Regions from separate parts of the Homo sapiens genome. Here region 1 is linked to region 2. Evidence: promoter capture Hi-C in human tissues and cell types (Jung and others, 2019). All regions are on one chromosome and are shown on one strand. The core of a region is centred on a gene start or on the middle of the fragment in contact, and the rest is flanking DNA. Distances in the headings are between cores, read along the strand shown.

Region 1 (3,791 bases), core at 945-3,444, 75 kb before region 2:
TGGGCACAGGGCCTCTTTGGGACTTCAGAGGAAATCTCCCAGTCCCACTCTCGGAGGGTTAAGAGAAGGCCTCCTGCAGCTGTGCCGTCCACACCTCTAGGTCGCCAGAGCCCTGGCCCCCAGCCCCCAGCAAGCCTGAGCCCGGGAAGAACCAGAGGCCCTCCCGAGAGACCCAGTCACACGTCTCTGCTTTAAGCCTTAGCCAGCTAGTGACGAGTACAACGAGATAACGCCCATGTGTTTTGGAACATTTATGTAAGATTGTCATATGAAATGTATTTGGGAACTACATTAAACTTTTAACTAAAACCCTGGCCTCTGCATGCCCCAGGGGCCTCAGGAAGCCCCTGACCAGGAACGGCCTCCACCTCCCCGGGCGAGGACCTCCAGCAGCCTGGGGCCTCATGCTCCCACCCAGCGTGTCACCAGTGCTGGGGTCCAGCCACAGCCCTGTTCTCTCCACCACCACCCGCACTTTACCCCCACCCCTGCTGCAAGGCCCCGCCGGTCTGCCCCCGCCCAGAGCTCCCAGCCTCGGGCCGCTCACCAGAATGTAGATACTGGGCCCGCTGGACATGTTACCTGCTATTTTTATTCCCCATTTGCCATCTTCTGATTGGGGGTTGATGTTTTACAGATTTTTTTTTCAAAGGCTTTATTTCAGTTTCTGAGGTTAGGATGCCCCTGTGCCCCTCGCTCCACACCTGGGCAGGTCTAAACTTCCTTCCAGGATGGCCTCCACACACAGCCTCCCACCTGGGGTCACCTGGCTTCCTGGGGGACCCGCAAGGGAGGGGCAGGGAGCAGCAGTCCGGGTGCGGGGATCGGGGGACCTCGGCGGGGGCATCCACAGGGGCTGCAAGATCTCTGGTCAGCATGGCGTGGGTGGGGAGAGCGTTTCTCCCTGGGGTCCTGAGCCAGTGACTCCTGTTAGGACCTTTGTCCCACCTCCGCCTGGTGGACCGGCAGGGACCTGGTCTAGCCAGTCCTGCAGCCTCCATTCCCCCACCTGCCCCTCCCCGCTCTGTGGTGTGGCTGCCCAGGAGAGAAGGGGCCCAGGGAAGGGAGGTCTCCGGCAGGGGTGGGGAGTGACAGGCCAGGGCAGCAGGGCTGAGCCGGAGCTGCTCACAGCTGCCAGGCACTGGTCATCATGGCCACGAACTCCTCATCCGTGTTCATGGAGGCACTCACGCCGCTGTAGTAGTCCTGGAATTCCGCCAGTGTGACCTGGGAACAGAGGGCCGTGAGGGGGCACGGCCGAGGAACTGCCTGGGGAGGGGGCCCCCCGCGCAGCCACCCACCTGCCCGTCCTTCTCAGAGGAGTCGAAGTTGTCCAGGAAGCGGCGCAGCACCTCGTCCTCGGTCCACTCCCCACTGCGCACCTTGGGGTGGGCACGGCCACTGTACACCCCGCGGAGGTCGTCCACCGTCACGACGCCGTCCCCACTGCGGTCCAGCTTGGCAAATGCAGCTGCGATGACAGCCTCCCGGGCCTGGGACATGGGGGGCTGGGACAGGAGGTGGTGACTGGGGGTGGTGGGTAGCACACCCAAACCCCCAAGACGCTGTGCAGAGCACTGGGGCTGTATGCCCCAGCAGGCGCCTCTTAACAGCAGCTCTTAGGGAGGAGTCCCCGTCTCCGCATCTCAGCATCCTCTGTCGCCCCATGCCCAGGGCACACGCCTTGACTGTGAGGTGGGGGCTCACCCGCAGCGCCCGAAGGAACTCCTCCAGATCCAGCGTCCCGCTGCCATTGCGGTCCCACTTCCTGCACACACCCTCTGCCTCCGCCTGGTCCAGCACCAGCCCGAGTTTGGCCAGACCCTGCCGGAACTCATCAGCGTCCAGGGATCTGCTCCCGTCCCGGTCTAGTTGGCGGAAAAACCTGGAGGCAGGGGACACGGTTGGAACAGTGGTCTCAGGGGCCGGGGTCAGGAAGGTGAGAGGGGACAGCTCACCTGGCCAGGCCCTGGATGCCCGAGGCCCCGCGGGACAGGCACTGTGCCCGGAGTTTCTCCATGGTGGCATCCACGGCGTCCATGCTTGGTCTGGGCTCTGGGCAGCTGGAAGGGAGAGAGGTCAAGGTGGGGACTCCCGCAAGCCCACCCTGGCCGACTGCCCCTTGTTCAGATGCTCACCTGGCCTGCGTCTGTCCCAGAGTCCTGCCTGCGGGGCCTTGTGTTAGCTGTGTTGTGCCTGGGGAGACTGTTGCTAGTGGAAGGTGCCTCTGGAGATGGGGTGGGGCCCAGCTGCATGAATGCACTGTGCTGGGCAGTGGGGAGTGGGGGAGGGATGGGTGCGCCCAGCCTGACTGCTTACTCAACTGCCAGCCCCACAGGGCCTGGGACAGAGCCAGATCCCTGTGGCACTGCATCCCTTCCTGGCTCCAAGGAGGAGGGGCAGGCCACTGCCCTGCAGGGGCTGAAATGCCCTGGATGGAGACAAGTCCGTGGCTGGGGAGGCTTGACGCATGATTCCTGTGTGACCCTGGACAGGTCCCTTTCCCTCTCTGGCTTCACAGGGGCTTCTCAGCCCGAGCCAGGGCTGACAAAATTGCTGAGGAATCAAAGTTCAAAAGGGCCCCAGGTTCTGACCGGCCACTGCGGCTCATGCCTGAAATCCCAGCACTTTGGGAGGTCTAGGTGGGAGGATCACTTGAGCCCAGGAGTTTGGACCAGCCTGGGGAACATATAGAGAACTTGTTTCTATTGTACAGCAACAAAAATGCCCCAGGTGGGCTGGGCGCGGTGGCTCATGCCTGTAATCCCAGCACTTTGGGAGGCCGAGGTGGGCAGATCACAAGGTGAGGAGTTTGAGACCAGCCTGACCAACATGGTGAAACCCCGCCTCTACTAAAAATACAAAAATTAGCCGTGCATGATGGTGGGCGCCTGTAATCCGAGCTACTTAGGAAGCTGAGGCAGGAGAATCGCTTGAACCCAGGAGGTGGAGCTTGCAGTGAGCCAAGATTGCACCACTGCACTCCAGTCTGGGCGACAGAGCAAGACTCCATCTCAAAAAGAAAAAAAAAAAAAAAGCCCCAGGTGGCCCAGGTCCTGGGGCCCTAAGACCTCCCACCCAGGCCCACCTCCAAGGGCAGGTCCTGCAACCCACAGAGACTGAGCTGAGCCTGAGGGACACCTCTGCTCACTGCCACAAAGCTTGTCACTGGCCGTTGTTAGGAGCCAGTCCCAGGATTTCTGTCTTTACGGATCTTTTGTTGTTGGTTTTCAGGCCTGAAACGTGACTTAGTGGGCTGGCTCCTGACAAGGTGGTGAGCCAGAGGTTGTGACCCCGAGTGGAAGAGCAGCCCTGATCCTGGACATAAACCTCAAGAGACGAAGCCACCTCACTGAAGGCCTTCAACGGAGACATCGGATATACCTGCCCGCTAAGATAGGTGGGTTTTCCAGGACTTGAAACGTGGGCCCTGTTTGAGGACCCACTGTTCGCCCCGACCCAAGGATCATCAATCGGAGCCTTCTCCAAGCCTGGCTTTACCTCGCTCACAGCACAATTATATTGTCAGAAGTTGCCTTGCCTGAGCGCGGTGGCTCATGCCTGTAATCCCAACACTTTGGGAAGCCAGGGCAGGAAGATCACTTGAGCCCAGGAGTTTGAGACCCGCCTGTGCAACATAGTGAGACCCCCCCATCTCTACAAAAACTACAAAAAATTAGCCAGGCATGGTGGTGTGTTCCTGTAATCCCACCTACTTGGAAGGCTGAGGCAGGAGGATCACTTGAGCCCGGGAGTTGGAGGCTGCAGTGAGCTATGATCGCACCACTGCA
Region 2 (3,646 bases), core at 16-2,515:
TACTAAAAATACAAAAAAAAAAAAAAAAATTAGCTGGGCGTGATGGCGGACGCCTGTAGTCCCAGCTACTTGGGGCAGGAGAATGGCGTGAACCCAGGAGGCAGAGCTTGCCATGAGCCGAGATCGTGCCACTGCACTCCAGCCTGGGCCACAGAGCGAGACTCTGTCTCAAAAAAAAAAAAGAAAAAAAACCCAGCTGGGCGGAGTGGCTCATGCCTGGCCTCTAATCCCAGTACTTTAGGAGGCTGAGGCAGACAGATCACCTGAAGTCAGGAGGTCAAGATCAGCCTGGCTAACATGGCGAAAACCAGCTCTATTAAAAAAATACGAAAGTTACCCAGTGCCGTGTCACGCGCCTGTAGTCCCAGCTACTCGGGAGGCTGGGGCATGAGAATCGCTTGAGCCCGGGAGGCATAGGTTACAGTAAACTGAGACTGTGCCACTGCACTCCAGCCCGAGTGACAGAGCAAGATTCCATCTCAAAAAAAAGAGAGAGATAGGGGTATCTCTGTTTTCCCTAGGCTGGTCTCAGACTCCTGGGCTCAAGCGATCTTCCTGCCTCTCCTTCCCAAACTGTTGGGATTACAGGTGTGAGTCACTGTGCATGGCCTCAGAAGTCTTTTTTTTTTTTTTTTTTTTTTTTGAGACAGAGTCTTGCACTGTCGCCCAGGCTGGAGTGCAGTGGCTCAATCTAGGCTCACTGCAAGCTCCGCCTCCCGGGTTCACACCATTCTCCTGCCTCAGCCTCCCAAGTAGCTGGGACTACAGGCACCCACTACCACGCCTGGCTAATTTTTTTGTATTTTTAGTAGAGACAGGGTTTCACCATGTTAGTCAGGATGGATGGTCTTGATCTTCTGATCTCGTGATCTGCCCACCTCGGCCTCCCAAAGTGTTGGGATTACAGGCGTGAGCCACCACGCCCGGCCCCCAGAAGTCATTTTTTTAATAAGTTACAGTCAACCTCACCAGTCAAGGAATGAGACATGAGTGGAATTAGGTTGCCACTTCTGGAGCTCTGGGAGACCCCAACCCCCTGGCCCATCCCTACCTCCCAGAACCTCACTGGTCTGGGCGTGGCTGGGCACTGAGATAGTAGAACTCAGGCAGCATGATGCAGCCTCCCAGAAATGATTTCTAGAACAGGGCAGTCGTGATACTTGGAGGCTGGGCTTTGAGCTCGGTCACCTTTGCACCCAGCTTGGGAGTGAGAGAGTTTAAGGTCATCCTCCCTCAAAACCAGTATTCCAGATCATTTCTCTCCATTCCAGGAAGTTTGCATAGCTCCCTGGACTTCTGCTTTGCACTGCCCTGCAGGAGTGGGTGGGGAAAGGAAGTGGCTTTGAGGCACACAGAGGGGCTTGTTGAGGCCACCGGAGGAAGCTTCTGCCACCAATATGGGACCTGTGCCCAGCCTACCAGAAGAGAGCATCTGAAAACATGTATCGACATGGTAACCCCTCTGCTTGAAGCCTCACATGGCTCCCTATTGCCTTGGTGCTGAACACCCTATGGCTGACCGTGGCCCAGCCTCTGCAACAGCTCTGCCTCCTCTCCAGTGGTGAAGACCCAGCCTGCTGAGACTCCTCCTGCAGTTCCTCAACATGCCTGCATTTCTGCTGCCTCAGGGCCTTTGCGAAGGTTGTTCCTTGTAACTGGAATGCCCTTCCATCCCTTTTTTATTCAAAAGGCTGCAATTTTAATTGAAGAAAGTTCCCTTCCAAGGTTCATGAGTTGCCTGACTTGCCCACCGGTTTCCTGCAAGATCCCTTGGCCTGGCACTTAGTGCTCAGGAAATATTTGGTGATGGGCCAACTGAGTGAGAAGGTGGGATCTGGTGGGAAGGAAAGCGGAAAGGTAGAAATTCTGCTCACTTCCTCATTCCCACCTCCCAAGGAACCCCTGGTGTCCCTGTGGAACCCGCTTTGGGAACCGGTGGTTCAGGTCAGCCTTTTCACTTTGTACTCAAAGCCACATCGCATTGAAGCCACAGGTGGGGCAAGGTCATGCATGACCTGAGTCTCCAAATCCCTTCACCCTGTTTGGTTCTGCAACGGGGATTAGGGGAGCCCCACGATTTGTTTTCAAAGGATGTCCGGGCTCCAGGACAGGATGCCCTGGGTCACCTGATGACAGGTGTGGTGGTTGGAAAGGGCCTGGTTTCAGCTCCGGGTACACTTCCTCCTTCCTTCTGCTGCGTGGTGTGGCCTCTTCCACGTCCTCAGAATCCAGCTGTTACTCCGTCCGCGGCCTCTCAGCTCTAGGGCCCTCTGCACACTGGCCCCCCCAGGTAAGGCCTCTTGTCCCACTTTCACCCCCAACCCGGATCGCATGGGTCCAGGGAAAGGCCTCCTGGCTCCGAGCCTCCTCCCCTCAGCCTCAGTCCTGTCTGCTGTAATTCAGAGTGCGGGTGGGCTGGCACAAGATCCCTGGGGGAGGGTCTGCAGGCTGTGCAGTGGCCTGGCATTTGGCCAGCAGCCCCTAGTCGCAGGCAGGGGTCTTTCTGGATGCACCGAGGTGGGCTGAGGATATGGGAGGTCTGGCTGATTTGCCAAACCAGGAGGAAGTGGGTGTCTGTCTGTCTCTCTTGCAGAGCTCTGCGGTAGAATCCCGTGCCCCCCGACCCCATCAGCAGCCTACACCCCTTCATCCTTCCTGGCCCCGGATTTTCTCTGCCTCTGCCACTCCCGGTGGTAAAAGAGGGCTTAGAATGCGGTTTGCTTTCTGGCTTTGTTTTTTTGCATCCTGATCTTTGTGGCGTGGATCGATCATTTTCCAGGGAAAGTACCTTGGGTGAGATCTCTCTCCTGGACTCCCGTTCCCCGTTTCCCCCAATCTCCCCTCCTGAAGGTCACCGGCAAAGACTTCACTGTCTCCTAGGAAGAGGTCGCCATAAACCCAGGGGCCACATGATAATATATTAATATTAAATGTATCTCTAAACATTAACCTTTCACTGGCAGCCCAAGAGCCCGACAGCACAAAGGAATACTTGGTTAAAATTCAACCTCCCTCCCAGTCCGGGCTCTGAGTGTCCCTCGAGGGCTGTCTCTTGAGTCTTTTTCCAGAACTTTGGTATGCGCTTGTGCTCTCAATCCCTTCTCATCACACCTAGGTCACCATGCCTGGAGCTCCGCTATGCACCATAAGGTTTAGACCAACTCAGTTTATTTATTTTATTTTATTTTATTTTATTTTTTTGAGACAGAGTCTCGCTCTGTTGCCCAGGCTGGAGTGCAGTGGCGCGACCTTGGCTCACTGCAAGCTCCGCCTCCCGGGTTCACACCATTTTCCTGCCTCAGCCTCCCGAGTAGCTGGGACTACAGGTGCCCGCCACCGCGCCTGGCTAATTTTTTGTATTTTTAGTAGAGACGGGGTTTCACCATGTTGGTCAGGACAGTCTCTAACTCCTGACCTCAGGTGATTCGCCCGCCTCCACCTCTCAAAGTGCTGGGACTACAGGCATGAGCCACCGTGCCTGGCCTTTAAAAAGTTTTATTGAGATATCTGACATTCTGTTTTTCATCCTAAATCTTGGCAATCTAGTGTGCATTTTACCCTCAGAAGACAATTCAGACATTCAATGTCTGTCATAACTACTCAATCTGTATTTAGTTTCCATAAAATGAGGCTGGGCGTGGTGACT

Evidence for each region. The method cuts DNA at HindIII sites, captures the fragments that hold promoters and counts their contacts. A contact is called where the count stands out against the background at its distance.
Region 1: a contact is called between the fragment with the promoter of CAPS here and the fragment with the promoter of FUT6 in region 2, in 5 of the 25 tissues and cell types used here (IMR-90 fibroblasts, aorta, bladder and 2 more).

What each region holds. Positions count from the first base shown.
Region 1 is chr19:5,912,657-5,916,447 of GRCh38, reverse strand. CAPS (calcyphosine) reads right to left here and starts at 2,194. Exons shown (of 5, transcript NM_004058.5): 1 at 2,139-2,194; 2 at 1,959-2,063; 3 at 1,708-1,885; 4 at 1,302-1,508; 5 at 237-1,227. The coding sequence starts at 2,041. The coding sequence ends at 1,126. RANBP3 (RAN binding protein 3) reads left to right here. Exons shown (of 17, transcript NM_007322.3): 17 at 1-309. The HindIII fragment of the contact is 10,666 bases long and covers 1-3,791 here.
Region 2 is chr19:5,837,321-5,840,966 of GRCh38, reverse strand. It overlaps FUT6 (fucosyltransferase 6), which reads left to right and starts at 1,265. Exons shown (of 3, transcript NM_000150.4): 1 at 1,265-2,290. The HindIII fragment of the contact is 16,612 bases long and covers 1-3,646 here.